Linked DNA regions of Homo sapiens: all the other regions are linked to region 2. Evidence: promoter capture Hi-C in 16 types of primary human blood cells and fetal thymus (Javierre and others, 2016). All regions are on one chromosome and are shown on one strand. The core of a region is centred on a gene start or on the middle of the fragment in contact, and the rest is flanking DNA. Distances in the headings are between cores, read along the strand shown.

Region 1 (2,794 bases), core at 10-2,509, 500 kb before region 2:
GATCGTCCCACTGTACTCCAGCATGGGCGACAGAGCAAGACTCCATCTCAAAAATAAATAAATAAATAAAAACTGAGCTTATGATGGTCTTCTCTTTACTCTTCTTCCTATCATTGGTTATGCCCCCTCCTCTCATGCCCCTTGACCATTTCTCTCTTTCTGTTAGGTTTGGAGATATTGTAATGGAGCCTTTTTTGGCGAGTGAGCATTTCTTCACCCCCTTCTTCTGTTAACAGCCTCTCCCACTTCCCTTGGGCCTCCTCTCTCACACTCTCTGTTGGTTGGGTGGCTCTTCCACCCACAATTGGTGCATCACTCTGCTGGTGACTATAATTGGGCCAGGGATGGACACGTGATCCAGGCTGGTTTTTTTCACTTGTAATCTAAATAGTCCTAACAACAATAGTTCTAAATAATCCTAACAACTGAAGTTTCTGCCATGTCTTCCTCTGCCCATCTCCAAGCAGCCTGCTCTATTCTCAGGTCCTACAGTCTTGGGAGTTATTTTCTATTTTGTTTTTTTCTTTTCATATAAATTAAGAACAATTGTCCTAATTATGTAACTATATATGTAAGAAGTAAATATTCAATGTTGAAATGTAGAAAATATAAACAGGTGTAGAGGAGATTTCTTTTCTCACCCCCTGCTAGGTTCACAGCTAGGGCTCTTATAATAAAGGCAGATTAATAAGGGAAAAGCACAGACATTTATTTAATAGAAGTTTTACATCACATAGGAGCCTTCAGAAATAAAGATCCAAAGAGACAGGGAAACCCATGTATTTCTATGTTAAGTTTAAGGAAGAAAAGGATAGTCATGGAAAAGTATGATTAGACAAAGAGGCTATGAGCTAATGGTAATAAACTGAGGGGACTTAGCAAGGCCTGTTTGTTCAGATTCTTCCCTGTCTCTTCAGCGATAAAGATGTTCCTTTCTTCCAGGTATAGGGTGGAAAGAAGGTTTTATGATCTATTTCAGGGGAAGTTCAGCGAGGTGTCTTTTTTTTTTTTCTTTGGCAGAGTTTCGCTCTTGTTGCCCAGGCTGGAGTGCAATGGCGTGATCTTGGCTCACTGCAACCTCCGCCTCCCAGGTTCAAGCGATTCTCCTGCCTCAGCCTCCCAAGTAGCTGGGATTACAGGCATGTGCCACCACGCCCCAGTTAATTTTTTTTGTATTTTTAGTAGAGATGAGTTTTCACCATGTTGGCCAGGCTGGTTTTGAACTCCTGACCTCAGGTGATCCATCCACCTCCGCCTCCCAAAGTACTGGGATTACAGGCGTGAGTTACCACGCCTGGCCTCAGCTAGGTTTTATAGCCTACTTTAGGGGAGAAGAGGCAATGTCAAGGTGAGAATGACCTTCCTGCTTCTGTTGTTTTCTCAAATGCCAAGGTACCATATTTTGGGGTAGCATGTACTGAACTTCAGCACAGGTATACAACAGAAATATGATTCACTCCTCCTAAGGGTTCATTTAATTAGATTAGGGCCACCTGGATAACCATGTCAGTAACCTTAATTACATCTGCAGAGTCCACTGTGATATGCAAAGTAACATATTTCACAGATTCCAGGGATGAGGGCTTGGACATCTTTGGAGGGCGATTCTGCCTATCCCATACAGCTTATCAATTTTGCTTCTCGTCACTCTCTCTGTTCCAAAACAACTCATGCTTTTAATGGTAAAAGGCTACTGTATTTGGGGATTCCATTATCTGGTCATTAGAACAGCATATACAGTTGTGGAGTAGGCATATTTCACTGGGTTTTTCTAGAGTTTCTATAAAACAGTCTCCCAGAGCAATTTTTACTCTATGATTCTGATTAAAATTCAAATAGCATTCTGGTTAAAATTCACGTCTCAGGGAACTTGATGTCAGGAAGGTACTAGGAAAGAGAATGCAAATAATTGACTCGATAGATATTAAAAATATATATCAGATGTAAGTGTAAGTTAATATACTAATTACAGTATAAATATAAAATCTAAATTATAAATATATAAATTGGCCAAGCGTGGTGGCTCATGCCTATAATCTCAGCATTTTTGGAGGCCAAGTTGGGAGGATCACTTGAAGCCAGGAGTTTGAGACCAGCCTAGGCAACAAGGCGAAATCCTGTCTCTACAAAAAATTAAAAAAATTAGCCAGGCATGATGGTATGTGCCTATAGTTCCAGCTACTAAGGAGGCTGAGGTGGTAAAATCACTTGAGCCTGGAGGTCGGGGTTGCAATGAGCCATGATTGTGCCACTGCACTCCAGCCTGAGCAACAGAGCAGGACCCTGTCTCAAAAAAAAAAAAAAAAAAAGGCCGGGCGCGGTGGCTCACGCCTGTAATCCTAGCACTTTAGGAGGCTGAGATGGGCGGATCATGAGGTCAGGAGATCGAGACTGTCCTGGCTAACACGGTGAAACCCTGTCTCTACTAAAAATACAAAAACTTAGCCGAGTGTGGTGCAGGCGCCTGTAGTACCAGCTACTCAGGAGGCTGAGGCAGGAGAATGGTGTGAACCCGGGAAGCGGAGCTTGCAGTGAGCCGAGATTGTGCCACTGCACTCCAGCCTGGGCGACAGAGCAAGACTCCGTCTCAAAAACAAAACAAAACAAAACAAAACAAAAAAATATATATATAAAATCTATTATCTGTAATCTATAAATATAATTACATAATACATAATTATTATAATCTATAATTAGACCATTGGCCTAATACACTGACATTTTTGTTCATTTCCTTTAAGTTAGTTTATGTATTCATTTATTTACTTAATGTTACTTCAATTTATTCATATCT
Region 2 (2,869 bases), core at 126-2,625:
GACTCTGTAAGTATCTGAAATTGAACTGAAGATAAGGAACAAGCTGAGGTCACACAATTATTGTGGGACAAAAATTGGAGTGGGTTTCTATGTTATGTGAGAGCAAGTTCATTGCAAGATTTCTTTAACCATGAAGCAAAAGAGGAAATACCAATTATAACCACATATACTTCATGAGATATGCTAAATGAGCAAAATAATGATTTGCATATGAACAAGGGAAAAACACACTTTATATGGAAACTATACACACACACATACACACACACAGATTTCAATAGAATGTATTTAGAGAACTTATGATTCATTAAGAGTAGGGAGAGACCACAAAAATGGGCAAATGACATTAATGGGCAATTTATAAAATGATAAAATTAGTAATAAAATATTTACTCTTATAAATCAACAAAATACAAAGGAAGTCAACAATGTGTATTTTTTACTTGTCAATTTGCCAAACACTTAAAAAGTGCTTTCATACACTGTTATTGGAAGTGTAGACTGATGTAATCTTTCTAGAGGGTAATTGGGCAATGTGTAGCAAGATCCTTACATTTTCCTCAGTTACTGACCCAGTAATTCCACTTCTTAGAGAAATAATTAAAGATTTGCAAAAAGCAAAAAAAATTATGTAGCTGGTTGCTCATCACAGCATTATTTGTAAAAATGAAAAAGCAGGAATTGACTAAATGACAGAATATTATTAGCAATTTCAACTGTTTTAAATAAATTGCTAATGCCATAGGAAAATTTCTGTAATACAATTTAAGTGAAATATTTCAGAAATAGTGCTGCATACATAATCAGGTAGCTATCTGAAAACATTAATAGTACTTATCTCTAGGTGAAATTATTTGGTCATTTTAACATTTTTCTTAATAATTAGGATAATGTGATTTACCAAATGAGATACTATGAAAATGAAGGATATAGAATTTGTATTACAATTTTCTTTTTCCAATCACAAAACATGACATGTCTATTTGTATATCTCATGCATTGTGTTAGGAAATGTTTGCTAGATATTTATTCATTTATTCAAGGATTATTAGAGGATTATGATTATTCAGTGATAAATTTCAGTGGTCTTTATTATTCTCATCTCATGGTGGTATATATGAGTAGCAAGGAAGGAGAAGCCAGCTGCATTGGTCTTAAAAAGAAACCATTCAATTTAGACAATCTAAATTATAATAATCAGTTCCTCTTCCCACTTTACACTCACCTATCATATCCCAGCCCTCCAGGAACCAGCATCCCCAAAAGATAAAGGGTTTCAAGCAGAGGCTTCATTCTGCCACACAGTAAGTTAGAAAATTCTGGGCCTCTCTGGCAGTGGATCAAGTGTCCTTGAGAATGAATGCATCAAGACTGTGGCTCCCACAATCAAGATGAGATAAATCAGTTAGTGGATGTCTCAGCAGAAAGTCACGGGCAATTGCTTTATTAACTCTCTCATGTCCTCAAACACCTTTTCCAGTGTGGGAAATGCTGTACCATTTGATATTTCATTTCTTCTCTAAAACCAAATTTACGTGAGCTCTCAACTTCACCAGATCCTGAAATAAATTTCCTCCCTATGTAAAGTCACCTTGGAGTATTTCTAGGAACCCCCATCACTCGTGCTCAGGAGCAATCATTCCTGCTCTTCCCCTCACACAGGTTGAATGGGAATAGTAGGCTAGTCTTTGTGAATCATGAGCCTGTTCATGAGACCAGAAAGAACACTCTGCTCTGGTCAAAATGGACATGGTCATTATTCAGAATCTCCACTTCCTCCTTCAATCTAAGGCTTTGATTGGGGTCAAATGCCTTCTCTTTTTCTGATGAACCACATCACCAGCTTCTTAAACAAACCCAGATCTCTTCAAATCTGAGCAGTGAAGACAGTTTCAATCCTTTCCCATGTGGATTTTACCCCACGCCCCTCTTACATGAAGGACTCTGTCAGATACTCCGCCATGTTTTCAGACATAGCCAAGTTATGCTTGAATCTCATTGACCAGTAAAATTAAAGACTCATGTTAAGACCATTGCTAATAGTCTAACTGAGCAAGGCAAACTTTAGCGCAGAGCAGGTAGAGTATTTAAATGGAGTCCTTGGCATTTAGGGACCCAGTTTAAATCTTCTGCCCTGTATTCATGTATTCATTCTACAAAAATCTCATGAGTACCACTGTATACCAGACACTATGCTAGATACTTAAGATACAAGGGTGAACAAGGCAGAGTCCCTTCTTTTATGGAACTCACAGTAGAGTTGAGAGAAAAATAAACGAGTATACAAACAAATGTTACAGTTTCAAGTAAAGAGAATGCAGTTAAAAAACTAGAGGAGATAAGCGCTTCCATGCTGTCTCCAGGCATGCCATCCACCCAGTCCCTCCATGTGTTTAGCAACCCAGAGGCTCTCCAAACTCTGTTCCCTTGTGTTTTTATGAAGACTTCATTACATAGGTATGATTGATCATATCATTGGTCATTGGTGATTAAATAAATCTCCAGTCCCTCTTTCCTCCCCAGAGATGGGAGGGGATTACTGAATAACATGGCTGATTCTCCTGGCAACCAGCCGCTATCCTTAGAAACTTTCCAAAAGTTACCTGTTCACTTAAACTTAGACATAGTCAAAAGGGACGTCATGAATAACAAAAATGGCCCTTTCACCTTTATTGATCTTATCACTGAGGAAATTCCAAGGGTTTTAGGAGCTCTGTGTCAGGAACCAGGGACAAAGACAAAATATGTATTTCCTATTGTATCACAATATCACGATGGTGTTTAAAGCCACTGGGCTAGAGGAGTTCATCTAGGGTGTGGGTATAGACAGAGAAAGACAAAGACTGAGACCTGGGCTGACCTAACATTT
Region 3 (2,873 bases), core at 190-2,689, 460 kb before region 2:
TCATTGTGCAGCTCTCACTTATAAGTGAGAACATGTGGTGTTTGGTTTTCTGTTCCTGAGTTAGCTTGCTGAGGATAATGCCTTCCAGCTCCAACCATGTCCCTGCAGAGGACATGATCTCATTCCTTTTTATGGCTGCATAGTATTCCATGGTATATATGAGGTACAATGTTATTTTCTTCAGAAAATAATCAGACCTAGAGTTTGTTTTAGATCTCAGCACTGCCCAATTTAAGTACAAAATAATCATAATAATTATAATTACAACATCTTTATAAGTGAAAACTTCCAGATAAAAAAAATCAAGACACAGATGACCTTTCCCAATGTACAGGTCACTCTTCCATCTGTTTTAAGTGGAAGGACTAACAGGAATCACACCCAAAGTGAGAGAATAATTAGAATAACAAGGTTAGAACCGCCTTGCTAACCATGGCCAAGGCTGTGCTAAAATGACGAAGAATCCTGGTCAGACCACAAGTTAATACTCCCAGCTCGCCAGGCCACATGCTTGCTGATACTAAGATTTTCTAGTGGATGTGGGAAACAGTTGAAATTGGAATATCTGGGTCAGCACAACTTAATGTGCACTATGACAAAAATCTAACTTGAGCAGCCTTCCCCAATGTTCACAGTTCTTTTCCTCTCGTTCAAATGTTTTGGTACACCCCAAACATGAGACAATTTCTCCTAATGTCCTCTATGAACAGGAAATTCACAAGTGGCAAAAAGTAGGTAGCAGAGTTATTATGCAAAGACCAACCATCTAGGAATAAGGCAGAAAGGCTTCTCTCCTCAAATGGGGCACTATTTATACCACTCAACTCACCCATGCACCTCGAAATGTCTTTCTGGAGTCTTAAAGGTAGTTCACAGAGAAACCCAGATTAAGTGATTGACTTAAAGCTAAGCTAGACTTTAAAGCCATATGTCACTGGGGAGAACAAAGGGCCTGCTGACGTTTCAAACAAAGGGTCTCTGTTCTGCTCAAATTTGAATTCAAAGAAATCCTTTTGCCAACTAAATTCTCCATAGTTTCTCTAATTGGGTTGCATTTCAGTCTTTATTATTTCATTAACATAGCTTTAGGTACACTTATTTTCCTAAAGTCCAGGTTATTTCTAATTCATTCTATATTTAGAAGTCCAAAATATCACCATCAGTTTCCCTGAAGCCTCCTGACTGGTTAAGATTATCAACGGACTCTTCTGGCTAGAAAAAAAAAATCCTGTTAACCATTTCCCCATGGTATCCTTCCCAGCAGTAAAATTCACAGCAAAGCTACTTGATTTCTTAGGCACTCATTTTTCTTCTATAATGAGACTGCCGACAGATGCCCATATAATGGAAATCTCCATTGACTACCATGGATCATCTCTATCCGAACTTTGTAATCTGCATCAAGAAAGAATTTTCAATATCGTCTGTCTTTCTGGATGGTCTATTTCCCCTTTTGTCATTTATACAAATCCTCTTCACCATGCTTCCACCTTCATGTGTGTGCATTTCTGTACAGCAGTATATCCTCTTACCCTTATTATAGCAGTTGATTGTATGTACTTTGCTTTATTATTCTTTTCTCTAGTGTTTTTTTTTTTCTTCTAAGCATGGATTTATTTCATCCAGCTGGTTCCAAGAATAGGAGCCATATCTTCTAATTCTTCTTATGCCTCTAAATACCACTTAGCACATTGAAGATGCCTAATAAATATGCTTCCCTAGTAATATCAGCTTTCTGGTCTTAGTTTCATTTGCATTAATTTGCTTTCCCTTAAAAAATTCCTCAAATTTATTTGTTAAATTCATATGTAAATTGTTTAGAAAACATTCTCAGGCCTCTTATAAACTCATTTCACCTAGTTACAGATACACTGTAGCTGGATTTTGACTGGAAAGGAATTTTGGATGTATGAGCTGTGACATGACTGTATTCCTATCTTAACTCAGCATCTCACCGGTGGCTTTTCATTACTACAACTCTAACTGGTTTATTGAGGGTGGAGTTTAACTAAGAAACAACTTTTATCCTTCTTCCACGTCTGGCCTTAATTATTATACTTGATCAGATTTCCTTTCTTTGCCTCCTTGGTGACAACTTGCACAAACCGCACAGTCTTTCAGTCAATTTCAACGTGTTAACAAACAGGCTCATTTTCAAGTATAAAATAAAATAGCACAACCCAATCTAATGTAAAAACTTAAATCTTCCATTTAATGGAAGCTCCTTCCCCAACACACCCCCTTCTCCACTTTGTCCCAGGGTCTCTCAGAGGAAATGTGACTCCTCAGGGCTGTAGACAGGCAACGAAGCATGGCCTGATTCCCTTTTTTGGTTCTCCACTTGGCTCTTTCATTCTCAGCCCCACATCAGCAGGTTGCTCTCAGACTCTTACAGAGTTGGGCTGTCAAAAAGGGAGGAGGGGTAGACGGTGACCGAGTTTCTAATTTGGCTGCTACTCATACAACGGTGTCAGAGTTCCCTGTGTGGCAAATGCCCCATTGCCGAATTTCTTTAGTTGGTGTATTTTGTAGGTAATTGGGGACCCTCCCCACCAGAACCCCCGACACAGGGGACTCTGTCCTGCATAGGGGAGTGTGTTCTCTGGCTGACCTCTTGTGACACCCTCTCAGTTCTTTGCTCCATTCATATACTCCACTGAACTTTCCTTTGCTGGGGGGTCCCTGATCCTGATTCCTGTCAAGAGGCCCCTAGAATGGGTACCCCTAGTGGCATCACATGGCCCAGAAAATCTTCATCCTGCCTTGGGCTGATAGAGGTGCAGTTGACTCACTCTATTGTCTTTTCAGCTCATTTATTCTCCAGGGACAGTTATTATCTTGGAGGGCAGTCCAGGTTCTCTCAAGGACTCTTT

The links. The method cuts DNA at HindIII sites, captures the fragments that hold promoters and counts their contacts. A CHiCAGO score of 5 or more calls a contact.
Region 1: a fragment that was not itself captured here is called in contact with the fragment with the promoter of CPO in region 2 in 1 of 17 cell types (total B cells); the score reaches 5.0 in total B cells.
Region 3: a contact is called between a fragment that was not itself captured here and the fragment with the promoter of CPO in region 2, in 6 of 17 cell types (neutrophils, total CD4 T cells, naive CD4 T cells and 3 more). The highest score is 6.9, in neutrophils.

What each region holds. Positions count from the first base shown.
Region 1 is chr2:207,440,447-207,443,240 of GRCh38, reverse strand. No RefSeq gene overlaps it. Among named protein-coding and RNA genes, the nearest start is that of CREB1, 88 kb to the left of the region's middle. The HindIII fragment of the contact is 9,014 bases long and covers 1-2,794 here.
Region 2 is chr2:206,938,024-206,940,892 of GRCh38, reverse strand. CPO (carboxypeptidase O) reads right to left here and starts at 1,375. Exons shown (of 9, transcript NM_173077.3): 1 at 1,226-1,375. The coding sequence starts at 1,293. The HindIII fragment of the contact is 5,939 bases long and covers 1-2,869 here.
Region 3 is chr2:207,397,587-207,400,459 of GRCh38, reverse strand. No RefSeq gene overlaps it. Among named protein-coding and RNA genes, the nearest start is that of MIR1302-4, 130 kb to the right of the region's middle. The HindIII fragment of the contact is 4,854 bases long and covers 1-2,873 here.